Regions from separate parts of the Homo sapiens genome. Here region 2 is linked to region 1. Evidence: promoter capture Hi-C in 16 types of primary human blood cells and fetal thymus (Javierre and others, 2016). All regions are on one chromosome and are shown on one strand. The core of a region is centred on a gene start or on the middle of the fragment in contact, and the rest is flanking DNA. Distances in the headings are between cores, read along the strand shown. Region 1 holds the start of NEURL1-AS1 (NEURL1 antisense RNA 1). Region 2 overlaps PDCD11 (programmed cell death 11).

Region 1 (3,855 bases), core at 1,144-3,643:
GAAACTCTGTCTGTACTAAAAATACAAAAATTAGCCAGGTGTGGTGATGGGCACCTGTAATCCCAGCTATTCGGGAGGCTGAGGCAGGAGAATCGCTTGAGCCTGGGAGGCGGAGGTTGCAGTGAGCTGAGATCACGCCGCCGTACTCCAGTCTGGGCGACAGAGCAAGACTCTGTCTCAAAAAAAAAAAAAAAAAAAAAAAAAAAAAGAAACATCAAGTGTGTGTTTAGATATTCTTTCCAGAGGAAGTTCCCCACTTCACATCCTTTAAAATAACTTCTCATTTACTCACTTATTCTTTTCACAGGAAACGCACAGCTGGGACGTAGGAGGCTGTAACTGACCAGTGTGGGACTGGAAAAGGAAAGAGAGATGTTAGAAAGTGTGGGCCTGGGGAATCCTAACTAGAAGGCCCCTGGTGCTGGGGAAATTAGGGTAGGAGATGCTGCATTGTTTACTATGAAAATTCCAGTCACTGCTCTTTTAGCAGTCATGCTAGTACATTAGCCAAGGCTGTTTATAAAGGTATAGTAAACTTTCACTTCTGCAAGGTCAGTGAGACTCTCATTTGCAAAAGATCATCTTGTTGCCAAGAACAAATCACCACCTAGTGAAACATTTAGCTCAGCCATGAAAGTGAAACCAGATGACGAATGAACTAGTGTCCACACAGACCCTAGGTGTCTCTGGGCAGTAGGAGCTATTGAAAGTTTTAGATTTGCTTTTTGGAAAGATCGTGCTGGCTACCCTGTGGAGGATGGAGTTAAGAGGGACAAGTTGGAAGACCACTTATGAAGGAAGTGAAGTTGTCTAGGGGAGGGATGCTGAAGCCTGAACTACAGATGTGGTCCAAGAGAGGAAGGAACACGTTTGAAACATATTTAAGAGGTGTGCTTTGGCCGAGTGCGGTGGCTCATGCCTGTAATCCCAGCACTTTGGGAGGCCAAGGCAGGTGGATCACTTGAGTCCAGGAGTTTGAGACCAGCCTGAGCAACATTGCAAAACACCATTTCTACAAAAATATAAAAAATTAGCCGAGTGTGGTGGTGTGCGCCTGTAGTCCCAGCTACTTGGGAGGCTGAGGTGGGAGGATCATTTGAGCCTGGGAGGTGAAGGTTGCAGTGAGCTGAGACTGCACGACTGCACTCCAGCCTGGGTGATAGAGTGAGACCCCATCTCAAAAAAAAAAAAAAAAAGAAAAGAAAAAAATAAAAGGTTGTGTTTGGCAGCACTGATAACTGAATGATGCAGGCGGTGAGAGTGAGGGAATAATCCAAGATTATTCCTGGTGCCAGGTTTTCAGGTGACTGGGAGAATGGTGATCCCATCAGGACCCCAAGCAGAAGGCGGGGGTTGGAGGGAAAGATGATAGGTTGAGTTTTGGCCAGGGTGTGTCAGAAGAGCCCTGAGATATCCTGGGGGAGACGCTGGGTTGGCAACTCCATGTGTGAGCTTGAATCTCAGAAGAGAGATCAGGGCCACAATGAGTTGTCAGCAGTGGGTGTCACTTAAACCATGAGAGTGGTTGAAATATCACAGGGTGGACAGAATGAAACCATGAAGAAGGTGTGGGAGAGGTACAAGGAGAATCAGGAAAGGTCAGAGGGCCAGAGAGGCCAAGGGAGCAGAGTTTAGAGGTATGATATGGCACAGTGCAGTGGTTCTCTAAGGGCCTACGAATTGCCTGGAGAGCTTGGAAAAATGTAGATTCCTCCTCAGGGGACCTGGAATAACCAGTACGATTCTGGAAGAAAGAAAAACCTGGAGGACTTACACTTCCTGATTTATTTACTTTCCTTTCTCCTTTCTCCTTTCTTCCTTCCTCCCTCCCTCCCTCCCTCTCTTCCTTCCTTCCTTCCTTCTTTGGAAGAAAAACCTGGAATACTTACACTTCCTGATTTATTTCCTTTCCTTTTCCTCCCTCCCTCCCTTCCTTTCTTCCTTCCTTCCCTCCATCCTTCCTCCCTCCCTCCCTCCCTTTTCTTTTTTCTTTTTTGAGACAGGGTCCTACTCTGTCACCCAGGCTGGAGTACAGTGGCGTGATCTCGTCTTACTGCAGCCTCCACCTCCTGGGCTCAAGGGATCCTCCCACCTCAGCCTCCTGAGTAGCTGGGACTACCAGCATGTGCTACCACGCTCAGTTGATTTTTAAACTTTTTGTAGAGATGAGGTCTCACTATATTGCTGAGGCTGGTCTTGAACTCCTAGGCTCAAGCGATCCTCCTGCCTTGGCCTCCCAAAGTGTTGGGATTACAGGTGTGAGTCACCATTGTGTGACCTGCCCTATACCATTACTCACCTTCTTCAAACTTCTAATAATAAACAAGAAATACCTACTGTTTAATGACCTCCTACTGTGTACCAGGCCCTGAGCCCCAAGACCCACAGCTCTGACCTCATTTACTCAACACAATGGCTTTGTGAGCTAGGAGCTAGGTGGGTCAGCCTGAGGGGCTGGTTTCCGTAGTGAGTCCTCTCCTGCCCACATCTGGCCTTTGCCTGAGCTGGCCCCAAATTTCATCTCCTCTGTGTCTCCTCTGAGTTGATAGGACTGGAAGCCCCTGGCTGTCTGTAATCAAGTCCACAAAGGTTCATGAGTCAAATCAGAAGTCAATGTACTGTTTCCCAAAGAGAAATTTTCTGTCAGATGGACTTCCTGGCACCTTCTCCCCTGCAGCAGCTCTTTGAGTGCTGGGTGAACTTGCTCTAGGCCTGGCAAGTTGAGAACACAGTCTGAGAGTTCAATGCCTATGGGCTCTGAGCCTTGCCCAGGCCACTTCACCAACAGGGAAATGCCTGCCAGGAGGACCCAACACTTGGGCCTGGCAGGCCACCATCTCCCTGGCTCTGCTCCCGTGGGCCTCACCGCAGTGTGCCTCAGTGACATCCCCTTTTCACCGATCTTTGGCATCCAATGAACACATCTTTTCTTCACCTCCAGCCAGGTATCCTTTATGTCTCTTGAGGGTAACTTTGCATGCCCTGATCCATGAACAGTCAATTTCCTAGACTGAAATTTGGGAAAGCTTATTGCCAAGAGCCATGGACTGGGAGTACCTTATTTTGCCCCTTTCTCCACTTACTGCCCACACAGTTTCAGGAAGGAAGCAGTGGGTTAAGTAAATGATGACGTCTATTCACAGGAATACCTTGCAGCTTTACACATTAATGAGGTACCATGATTTAAAAAAAAAGTCTACTATATTATTAAAAGAGCAAATTGTGTAATATGTATAGTATGGGCCTGTTTGCATTTAGAGTGCTACATTTTTCCTTCCCCCTCTTCCTCTCCCTTCCCTTCCCTCCCTCTCTCTCCCTCTTTTCTTTCATTCCTTTCTTTCAACCAGTATTTAGTCAATGCCTACTGTGTGCCAGGCACTGTTCTAAGTACTAGGATACAGCAGGGAACAAGTCCTCTGTCTCATGGAATTATATTCTTATGAAGAGAGACAGATTTTTAAAACCCAAAAACATGACATATGGATGTCAGATGATGAAAAATGCCCTGGAGAGAAAGAAACCATGAGTGAGGCAGATACAGGGATTATGAGTTGGGGGGTCTGGGGAACAGCACTTTGAATAGGTTGGGCCAGAGAAGACCTGATGGCATTTGCAGGAGGTGAGGGAGTGAGCAGTGCAGGTATCTTGGGGAACAACTCTATTCTGTGGTTCCATACCTTGATATCTACCTGTGCATCTAGTTATCACTCAGACATATTTACTTTGTTTGTTTGTACACACACAGACCAAGGCTGAGTGGATACCCACCCAACTGTTACCAGGGGCTACCTCTGGAGAATTGGCTGGGGTTGAGTAGTGTTGGGGAACGGGATGCTTTTACTCCACACAAATCAG
Region 2 (3,540 bases), core at 527-3,026, 100 kb before region 1:
AATTTTTTGTATTTTTAGTAGAGACGGGGTTTCACTGTGTTAGCCAGGATGGCCTTGATCTCCTGACCTCGTGATCTGCCTGCTGCCTGCTTCGGCCTCCCAAAGAGCTGGGATTATAGGCATCAGCCACTGCTTCCAGCCTAACTTTTTTTTATTAAAACTAGAGATGAGGTTTCGCCATGTTGGCTGGGCTGTCTCAGACTCCTGATCTCAAGTGATCTGCCCACCTCAGACTCCCAAAGTGCTGGGATTACAGGCGTGAGCCATGATCCCCAGCCTATTTTTGTATTTTTTGTTGAGACAGGGTTTCACTATGTGCGCAGGCTGGTCTCTAACTCCTGAGCTCAAGTGATCCACCTGCCTTGGTGTCCCAAAGTGCTGGGATTACCAGTGTGAGCCACCCATACCTGGCTTGAGTAAGCTTTGATTTAGTCATACATAGTCCCTATGGGACATTTTGATTTTTCTGCATTCTGCTTGAGTGTGGAAGCCAGTTTGAGTACTTACATACTAAGGATGTGAGTACTCACATACCTGGTTAGCATGTGGAAAGGCTTGATGCCTGGAAGGTCTGCTCTAGGGTGCTCCTGTGTGCCTCCTCCTGCTCACCCTGCCCTTCCTTTTGTCTAGGTGAGGGCCTGCATCCTTTGCGTCCATCCTCGAACCAGAGTTGTGCACCTGAGCCTGCGCCCCATCTTCCTACAGCCTGGACGCCCACTCACCCGACTCTCTTGCCAGAACCTTGGAGCAGTGCTGGATGATGTTCCTGTCCAGGGTTTTTTCAAAAAGGCTGGGGCCACCTTTAGGCTGAAGGATGGGGTTCTGGCCTATGCCCGGGTAAGGAGGCCTCTTTGTTTGGTCAGGGATCTTATCACTGGAAGGACTTCTGGAGCACAGGGGGCCATTTCTGCTTCTTTCATTCCTTGATGCTAGTTTAAAATTTTTGGATATTGTAGTTCTAATTCCTGTTCATAGTGATTAGAACAATGTCTATTGACTGTATTAGGATGCCTTAGAACCAGCTTGCCATATCTGATACTTGGTTAATAGTTAAGTATAAGGATGAGTTAGGATCCAGACCAGGGCCCAGCAGAGTTTTTCTTAAAGGGCTATGTCATAAATACTTTAGGCTGTGGGCCCTGTGGTCTCTGTCCTAATTGTTCAACGCTGCTGTTATGGCATGAAAGCAGCCATAGACAGTACGTAAATGAACAGATGGCTGTATTCCAATACAACTTCTATTTACAAAAACAGGCACTAGGCACAGTTGACTGACCTGTGTTCTGGACTTTCCCTGACCTTGCTGAAATTCTGTGATGATAAAGAGCAGTTTTTTAGTGTGAAGAATTACTTAACCAGGCAATCAAAGTACTGTTTTTATGGTACATGATAAGTGTTGAGTCCTCTCTATGGGCTGTAAGGTCTCATTGGCTCAGACCTGTTGTCCCTGGCTTATCCTCAATCACTTGGTACTTTGCAGCTCAGCCATCTCTCTGATTCTAAGAACGTCTTCAATCCTGAGGCCTTCAAGCCAGGGAACACTCACAAGTGTAGAATTATTGACTACAGCCAAATGGATGAACTGGCCTTGCTCTCTCTACGAACGTAAGTCTGTCATTAACAGGTAGGGGTGTAGAGATGTGCACCTGTACATGTTCATATTCCATTTCTCCTGGCTGTGCTTGGGAAGGGTTTTCTTTCTTGCCAGCATGCCTGTGGTAGCCCTGAATTTTAGGCAACCTCTGCCCTAGTTTATTTAATTCTGTGTTTTCTCCTTGTCCTAGGTCTATTATTGAAGCTCAGTACCTTAGATATCATGACATCGAACCTGGGGCAGTGGTAAAGGTAAGACCTCAAGCATATAATTAGGTACTGCCTCACCATCAGGCGTTCTTTAGTTCACGCACAGGTGACTGTCAGCCCGTTAGTCCTCATGTTAACACATTGAATGTCATGTTCCTTGCTTCTGCCTGCTGACTAGAATTTCTTTCTCTTTCTTTGGGTAACTCATAGTTAATTTCAAGGTAAGATCTTACTAGCACCACCCAGCTACACAAAGGCAGTAGATCATAAATCCTGAGATTTGGGATTTGATGGTGGTTAGTAGACCTGATCAAAAGTTAGTCCTGTGATTATTGATCTACCTGGGATATTAGTGAGAAGCCAGTTCCAGGTACCTGTCCTGTCCGACCATTTGGCTCTAATCGAGCAGCTCCCTTTATATGTAGAGTTTATTCCTTAGGAGACCTTGACATAGTCCCTTCCTTTGGGGAATGTATTTTAAGGCACACAGAAAGCACATGCTCACACAGAAAGATGTGAAGGCTCCCATAAATAAAGCTGACAGAATAATCCAGCTCAGTGTGGGGTGTGTGCTTCACCCATGTGCCATCTGGAATAACAGGCACAGTTAGCCCAGGAAGTTGGCTGTGAAGGGGAGGTATGACATGCCTTGTTGTAAGAGGTGGGGGAAAGGCCATTCTTGAGACATTGTGGCAGCTTATCTTTGGATTCTCTAGGGCACAGTGCTAACCATAAAGTCATATGGGATGCTGGTGAAGGTGGGCGAGCAGATGAGGGGCCTGGTACCTCCCATGCACCTGGCTGACATCCTGATGAAGAATCCGGAGAAGAAGTACCACATCGGGGATGAGGTCAAGTGCCGGGTGAGCCTCCTGAAGGGTCTCTTGGGGTTTTGGCTAGATGGGAAGAAAGCAGTTCTCAACTGAAGTTTCTGCCTTTTTCCACAAAGTGAGTGTGTAATGTCTGTAGTGTGTCTTGTGCTGTACCTGGCATTGGGAAGAGAAAAGTGAGTCCCCGTTTTGTGTAGTATAATTGGGAGTTAAAATATTCATACGTGATGAGAGAGCAAGCCAGCCTGTGATCTTTTGCCATGTGGCTTGGTGCAGGTTGTGTGCTGTGGTCACACCTGAGAAAGGGGAGGTGAGGGTGGGCTGGAGCAGCCAGAATTGTTGACGTTATCAGTAGCGACTGCCACGAACAGGACTGCCACGAACAGGTATTCCGTGCCAGTTTCTATGCTAGGCATGTGACAAGCATTATTTCATTTAATCCTTGAAACAACCCTAACAATTAAGCACTATTATCTTCATTTTGCGGGTGGGGAAATTAAAGCTTCGGAAAGCCAACCGTCTTGCCCAGAGTCACACAGCTAATACATGGCAGAACAATTCAGCTCTGTATGACAATAATGTTTTCTAGATTTCTGGCAGAGGTGGAACTTGAAAGGATAGGTAGGATTTGGAAGGTTGGGGAGAGCAAAGGTTGTGTTCTAGGCACAGAAATAGCCCTGGCAAAGCTGCCAAAACATGGGTGATTTATGACAAAGGCTCGAATCCGAAGGAAAGCTTCATAGGGTTGTGAAGATCCAACATGATGATGCACACAAGAGTGCTCCACGGGCAGGCACTCAGCATGTTAGATTTTCCGGTATTCAGTTTATCTCATCGTTATTGACTCAGCAGAGGTAATGATTGCCCATTGGTGCAAAATTTTACAGTAGTGGGATCAAGGGTTAAA

The links. The method cuts DNA at HindIII sites, captures the fragments that hold promoters and counts their contacts. A CHiCAGO score of 5 or more calls a contact.
Region 2: a fragment that was not itself captured here is called in contact with the fragment with the promoter of NEURL1-AS1 in region 1 in 3 of 17 cell types (M1 macrophages, M0 macrophages and megakaryocytes); the score reaches 6.1 in M1 macrophages.

What each region holds. Positions count from the first base shown.
Region 1 is chr10:103,515,049-103,518,903 of GRCh38, forward strand. NEURL1-AS1 (NEURL1 antisense RNA 1) reads right to left here and starts at 2,394. Exons shown (of 4, transcript NR_120675.1): 1 at 2,338-2,394; 2 at 293-354. The region is part of intron 1 of NEURL1 (neuralized E3 ubiquitin protein ligase 1); the gene reads left to right. RefSeq lists enhancers at 467-546, 567-726. The HindIII fragment of the contact is 6,397 bases long and covers 1-3,024 here.
Region 2 is chr10:103,412,486-103,416,025 of GRCh38, forward strand. PDCD11 (programmed cell death 11) reads left to right here. Exons shown (of 36, transcript NM_014976.2): 9 at 631-837; 10 at 1,481-1,605; 11 at 1,785-1,845; 12 at 2,520-2,666. Among named protein-coding and RNA genes, the nearest start is that of PDCD11, 18 kb to the left of the region's middle. The HindIII fragment of the contact is 2,714 bases long and covers 420-3,133 here.